Linked DNA regions of Homo sapiens: region 1 is linked to region 2. Evidence: promoter capture Hi-C in human tissues and cell types (Jung and others, 2019). All regions are on one chromosome and are shown on one strand. Each heading gives the region's core, a stretch centred on a gene start or on the middle of the fragment in contact. The rest is flanking DNA. Distances are from core to core; before and after follow the strand shown.

Region 1 (3,195 bases), core at 467-2,966, 250 kb after region 2:
GCATGAGAAAAGCAGGTAAGGAGGTTTAATGGCATTACTATTTCTGAAAAACTATCTGAAACATGGTCAATAAGTACTTGAGTACTTACAATGACATGATATATTACTGATTATGAGTTAGTAGCCATCTCATTGTTAAATGTAGCATAGCAAAAAAAATTTACTGCCAAGGGTAGGGCATGAAATTTCTCTTGATAAATTTCTTACCTCGAAGAGTATCCTCAAAGGCTGGGTTTGAATCAGAAGCCATGATTAATACTTAAAGCCATCGTAAACTAAATGCATTTAAGAATCTAGAAGCAAACTTGCAGAACCTATGACAGTTGCAGCATCTGTGACAGTTGCTCAGTAGTTATCAAGCGTAAAGGGCTCACAGTAAAAAGGGAAATCAGTGAATGTACCACCATGATTAAAAAAAAAGGATGCCGGGCACAGTGGCTCACGCCTGTAATCCCAGCACTTTGGGAAGCCGAGGCGGGCGGATCACCTGAGGTCAGGAGATCGAGACCATCCTGGCTAACTCGGTGAAACCCCGTCTCTACTAAAAATACAAAAAATTAGCCGGGCGTGGTCGCGGGCGCCTGTAGTCCCAGCTACTCGGGAGGCTGAGGCAGGAGAATGGCGTGAACCCGGGAGGCGGAGCTTGCAGCGAGAGGAGATCGCGCCACTGCACTCCAGCCTGGGCGACAGAGACAGAGACTCCGTCTCAAAAAAAAAAAAAAAAAAAAAAAGAATGCAGAGTAGGTTGGAGGAACCAATAAAAGGATCATGTGAGAGGAGGAGTTTGACCTATTTATTACTCTAACTGTGGGCTTATGCATAGTTTCTCTTTTTTCTTCTTTTATTGAGTTGCAGAATTGGAGAGGGATAGGATTCAGGATGCTGACTAAGGATAATCAACCTCTTAGTAACAAAGAGAAATTAGCTAATCCAGAGTCTGAACATCTTTAAGTTTAGTAAACTCTGAGTGGCTGATAAATACCTCTTTAAAGATATAAACATGTATTTCATTAAGCAATGACATATTAAAATTAAATGAAAATATGTGTGCTTTTATTTGGTAATGACACATCAACATCATATAAATGTGTGTATGTTTTTCCCCTACTTAAGAATCCTGGTGTTTTCATTAACCTAGCATCAAAGGAGAGAATATATTTTACAGAATACAAAAGTCTTGATACTGGCTCAGATGAACTGATTTAGACTGAAACATTAATGAATATGCACAACTATACTTAGGTTTATATTAATATATTATGATCCAACTCACTTTTCTGTATGCCCTCCTATGTTTAACAACTGCTATTATTTTTTTTTCCCTGTGTAAGATTAACTTCTTTTAACAGGAAACTTTTCATTTGGCATTCTTAAATCCTTTCTTCAGGGGTACAGCTATGAAATTTATGGTACCACTACCATAGTTAGATCCAGATCTGTAAGAACTGAATTTCTAAAGTTCTATTCACATTGTCTCTATTACTAGAATCTAGGCGAATTTGCTTTCTGCTGCAACCAAATGGGCAGTTGTCCAGTTAATGACGGTTTGGATATTGTGAGGCATGTTTTGTAAAAAAACACATTTTCTTTTTTCTTTCTTTTTTTTTTTAGAGACAGGGTCTTGCTCTGTTGCCCAAGCTGGAGTACAGTGGGTGATCATAACTTTCTGTAACCTCGAACCCCTGGACTCAAGTGATCCTCTCACCTCAGCCTCTTGAGTAGCTGGGACTAAAGGCATATGGCAGCATATCTGACTAATTTTTAAATTTTTACTTGTAGAGTCGGGGTCTCACTATTTTGCCCAGGCTGGTCTTGAACTTTTGGCCTCAAGCAATCCTCCCATCTCAGCCTCCCAAAGCACTGGAATTATAGACGTGAGCCACTGTGCCCAGCAGAACATGTTTTCTTTATCATTGCTCTGTGTCAGGTGATATTACCTAGAAGTCTGGATGGGGGACTCAAAAATCTAGCTAAATGTGTGCATTAAAATGTGTTACTTTGAGCAATTTGGAGCAAGAAAAACCCAGATTTATGTACTATGTCTGTTTTGTCAATGCAGCATTTAAAAAGATCATTACCTATTTCAGCAAAGGAGTGATGAGATGTGATTTATGGTTTAAAAAGCTTATCTGGTTGATGGTTTAAAGAGCTCATCTGGACCCTGCATGGAGACTATAGAAAGGAGAAGTGTGAAGGGTGTAAGGAATGTACAGTCAGGGAGATCACTTAAAGGACTACTGTAGCTTTCCAGCTAAGAGATGAAGGTGGCTTAAACTACAGTGAAAGCAGCAGTGAAGAAAAATGGGCAGATCTGAGATGTTTAAAGGCAGAATTAACAGGCCTTGCCCAAATGTTAGATGTGGGAGTAAGTGAAGGGGAGGGATGAAGTTATTAGTAATTCTCTTACTCTAAAAAACTCTATTTTATGCTACTGTAATTTGTAATGTTATTACTTCATTCTATCCTTATTTGCAGTTATCTTATTTTACTGTACATTATTAGTTTTCCCTAAGTGATGCTTTATTGGGACTATGATATACCTTATCATGTGAATTACAAGGGGCTAGAATGTTGAGAAATGAAAGAAAGGTAAGTAAAATGATTTCAAATTACTCGTGGTATTACTTGGAAATCTGACCTACAAGTTATAGATCAGGCAACTTTAACTTTTGGATGCATAGTCAGTAATTAGAAAATAAAAAGCGGCCAGGCACGGTGGCTCACGCCTGTAATCCCAGCACTTTGGGAGGACGAAGCGGGTGGATCACCTGAGGTCAGGAGTTTGTAGACCAGCCTGGCCAACAAGGTGAAACCCCGTCTCTACTAAAAATACAAAAATTAGCCGGGCGTGGTGGCAGGCACTTGTAATCCCAGCTACTCGGGAGGTTGAGGCAGGAGACTCGCTTGAACCTGGGAGGTGGAGGTTGCAGTGAGCCGAGATCACGCCATCGCACTCCAGCCTGGGGGACAAGAGCGAGACTTCGTCTCAAAAAAAAAAGAAAATAAAAAGCCAACTCAGGTGTCACAAAGTATATTACTATGAGATTCTAAGAAATATTAAAAATAAACAATTACTAGCTAATAAAATGGTTGCTGATTACAAATATATTCAATCAGAAAATTTTTATTTCAAGAAGGTATAGCAGTAAAGAAAAACATGCCTGGGAATGTGAATATTCTTTGAAATTGATCCAA
Region 2 (3,282 bases), core at 523-3,022:
CACCATGCCTGGCCTGGTGTCCACTGTGTTTGATGGATGATTGAACTGAAAAAAAAAAAATTTTTTTTTTTTGAGACAGGGTCTCTGCTCTGTTGCCCAGACTGGAGTGCAGTGACACCATTTCGGCACTTCGGCTCACTGTAGCCTCAACCTCCCTGGCTCAGTGATCCTCCCACCTCAGCCTCCTGAGTAGCTGGGACTACAGCCTGTACCACCACACCCGGCAGGGTCTCACTATGTTACCCAGACTGATGTTGAACCTTGGGGCTCAAGAGATCCTCCGCCTAGGCCTCCTAAAGTGTTGAGATTACAGGTATGAGTTATCCCTGCTGGCCTAAACTGAAATTTGTTCAGATAATTCAAAGATCCTAATCAAAGGAGTGCACTTGCAGCTGGCTTGAAGCCCTGGAGTAGTAGTATGTCCAGCCACAGAGCCAGGCTGCAGTGACGGTAATGCTTCAGGAATCTATTCAATTTATTTCCTTAGCTCTAAAATTATGGCAGGCCAGGCACTGTGGCTCATACCTGTAATCCCTCAACTGTGTGAGGCCAAGGCAGGAGGAGTTGGATACCAGCCCGGGCAACATAGGGAGGTCTTGTCTTTACAAAATAATTAGCCTGGCATGGTGGTGCACACCTGTAGTCCCAACTATTCGGGAGGCTGTGGTGGGAGTATCACTTGAGTCCAACAGGTCGAATCTGCAGTGAGTGATCGCACCACTGCACTCCAGCCTAGGCGACAGAGGTCAAAAACAAAACAAAAGAAAACAAACAAAAAAAACATAGCAAACATCCAGAAGACTGTGTAGAGCAATGAATGTCTCTCAAGCCAGTGATCTTTTTCTCTTCATTTTTCACATCAGGTGGGTAGTGTGCCCACTTCGTAACAAGGTTTGAGGGAGGCACATTTGACACAAGAGCATGAAAACCCAATCACACTTATGACTTACAAAAGGATCAAGTCAGTGATCTTTAAGCTGTGGGCCATTAAATACATTTTGTGAGCCGAGTGCAGTGGCTCAGGCCTGTAACCCCAGCACTATGGGAGGTGGAGGTGGGAGGATCACTTGAGTCCAGGAGTTCAAGACCAGCCTTGGGCAACATACTGGGAACTCCCATCTCTATTAAATTTTTTTTTTTTAATTTTGTGGATTACAACCATTTCAAAAACTAAAATAAGCGTAAATGTATCAAAATGCAGCTTACATAGCGAGGATAAATGCTGTTTTGTCAATCTGTTGTTTCAAGTTTTTTATGTGTGGATTGGGTCACCTTGTAACAGTGACTTACCTTTATGGGTCACGGTTGAAAACATTTCCGGTGCAGTGGCTGACTGTAATCCCAGCACTTTGGGAGGCCGAGGCTGGAAGATCACTTGAAGCCAGAAGCCAAGAGTTCAAGACCTGCCTGGGCAACACGGCGACACCCCGTCTCTATTTAAAAAGAAAAAAAAAAGTTTCCAAGGCACTGAGATGCCAGGAACCCGAGGTGTGTGTCCAGTAGGGGAGGGAGCAAATTGGGCGTTTGGAAAAAGTCCCACGCCTGGAAAGGAATACACAGTGGGGGGGTGGGGGGCGGGGCACATCGACTACTTCAAGGCACACTCCCACGGTTCAGAAAACCGATTGGCTAAAACTGGGAAAGTCCCGCCCACAACGCTCACTGGCCAATGGCTGCGTGAAATCAGTGCGAAGTGGGCGGGATAGAGAGCGTGGGCGGGGGGGCTAGCCTCGTGCGGGCTCCTTAAGTAGCGGCTGCGTGGCTTCCCTGGCACGCTACTCTTACGACGTCACGGTCAGGTGGTGCAGAGCTGGACGGCAACGACGTCGGACGCGCCCCTTCTTGGAACAATGTCCCACCACGGAGGAGCTCCCAAGGCCTCTACGTGGGTCGTTGCTAGTCGGCGAAGCTCGACAGTGTCCCGAGCGCCAGAGAGGAGGCCGGCGGAGGAGTTGAATCGAACAGGTCCTGAGGGATATAGTGTCGGCAGAGGTGGTCGCTGGAGAGGCACCTCTAGGCCCCCGGAGGCCGTGGCCGCTGGTCACGAGGAACTGCCGCTGTGTTTTGCTTTGAAGAGCCACTTTGTTGGCGCGGTAATCGGTGAGAATGGGAGTGGCTGGCAGGGCAGGATAGGTGGGGCCAGGGGCGGAGCCTGGGCGAAGGCATTTCCTCCCCACTGCCTCACCTCCAATCAGCTGCCACCTAGTGAGGTTCAGGTCTCTCCCAGAGCTATTTGTAAAACCTGGGGATAGAGTATAATTTAATCTGGCCGGGCGCGTTGGCTCACGCCTGTAATCCCAGTATTTTGGGAGGCCGAGGCGGGCGGATCACCCCAGGTCAGGAATTCGAGACCAGCTTGGCCAACATGGCAAAACCCTGTCTCTACTAAAAATATATATATTAAAAAAAATAGCTGGGCGTGGTGGCGCGCGCCTGTAATCCCAGATACTCCGGAGGCTGAGGCAGGAGAATGGCTTGAACCCGGCGGCAGAAGTTGGCAGTGAGCTGAGATCGCGCCACTGCACTCCAGCCTAGGTGACAGAGCAAGACTCCGTCTCAATTAAAAAAAAAAAAAAAAAGTAATTTAATCCACCTTTTGGTGTTTATACAGACAATGTATTTGGGAGAGCAACTCCTAGAAGACTTATGAAATCTTAGGGCTGAAGAGGGATGCTTAGAACAGGCCTTTTAACAGACAGCTAACCCCAGAATGAAAAACAAAACTTAATCAGTCTTTCTATGAGTACCATTTAGAGCCAGAAATCAAAGAAAAGCTATAAGGTCATTGTAGGGCTGCCTAGAGCAGTTGTATCTTGCTTTTAGTTTCCTTAATTTTTAAAAAGTTAAAAACTTTTCTTACTACATCTTGAGTGTTAACATTCAATTCTGAATTTTTAATTTTTTTCTTTCTTTTGATTTTTTTTTTTTTTGAGGCAGCTCTGTGGCCCCAGCTGGAGTGCAGTGTGGCGTGATCTCGGCTCACTACAACTTCCACCTCCCGGGCTCAAGCGATTCTAGCACCTCAGCCTCCCTAGTAGCTGAAATTACGTGCGCCACCACACCTGGCTAATTTTTGTGTTTTTAGTAAAGATGAGGTTTCACCATATTACCCAGGATGGTCTCGAACTCCTGTGGATCCACCCACCTCGGCCTCCCAAAGTGCTGAGATTACAGGCGTAAGCCCGGCCCATTTCTGAATTTTTTTGAAAAGCATTTAAAAATGATTAGAATGATTACCCCATTGATTGCCATTAAGCCCGAGTATAAATTGCCACATTTTAC

What was found. The method cuts DNA at HindIII sites, captures the fragments that hold promoters and counts their contacts. A contact is called where the count stands out against the background at its distance.
Region 1: a contact is called between a fragment that was not itself captured here and the fragment with the promoter of DDX43 in region 2, in 1 of the 25 tissues and cell types used here (aorta).

Annotation. Positions count from the first base shown.
Region 1 is chr6:73,645,082-73,648,276 of GRCh38, forward strand. All of the region lies in intron 1 of SLC17A5 (solute carrier family 17 member 5), which reads right to left. Among named protein-coding and RNA genes, the nearest start is that of SLC17A5, 7.3 kb to the right of the region's middle. The HindIII fragment of the contact is 4,203 bases long and covers 1-3,195 here.
Region 2 is chr6:73,393,056-73,396,337 of GRCh38, forward strand. It overlaps DDX43 (DEAD-box helicase 43), which reads left to right and starts at 1,773. Exons shown (of 17, transcript NM_018665.3): 1 at 1,773-2,100. The coding sequence starts at 1,851. It overlaps LOC124901538 (small nucleolar RNA U13), which reads right to left and starts at 958; the gene lies at 858-958. It also overlaps a transcript of OOEP not described here. RefSeq lists an enhancer at 1,390-1,890. The HindIII fragment of the contact is 17,001 bases long and covers 1-3,282 here.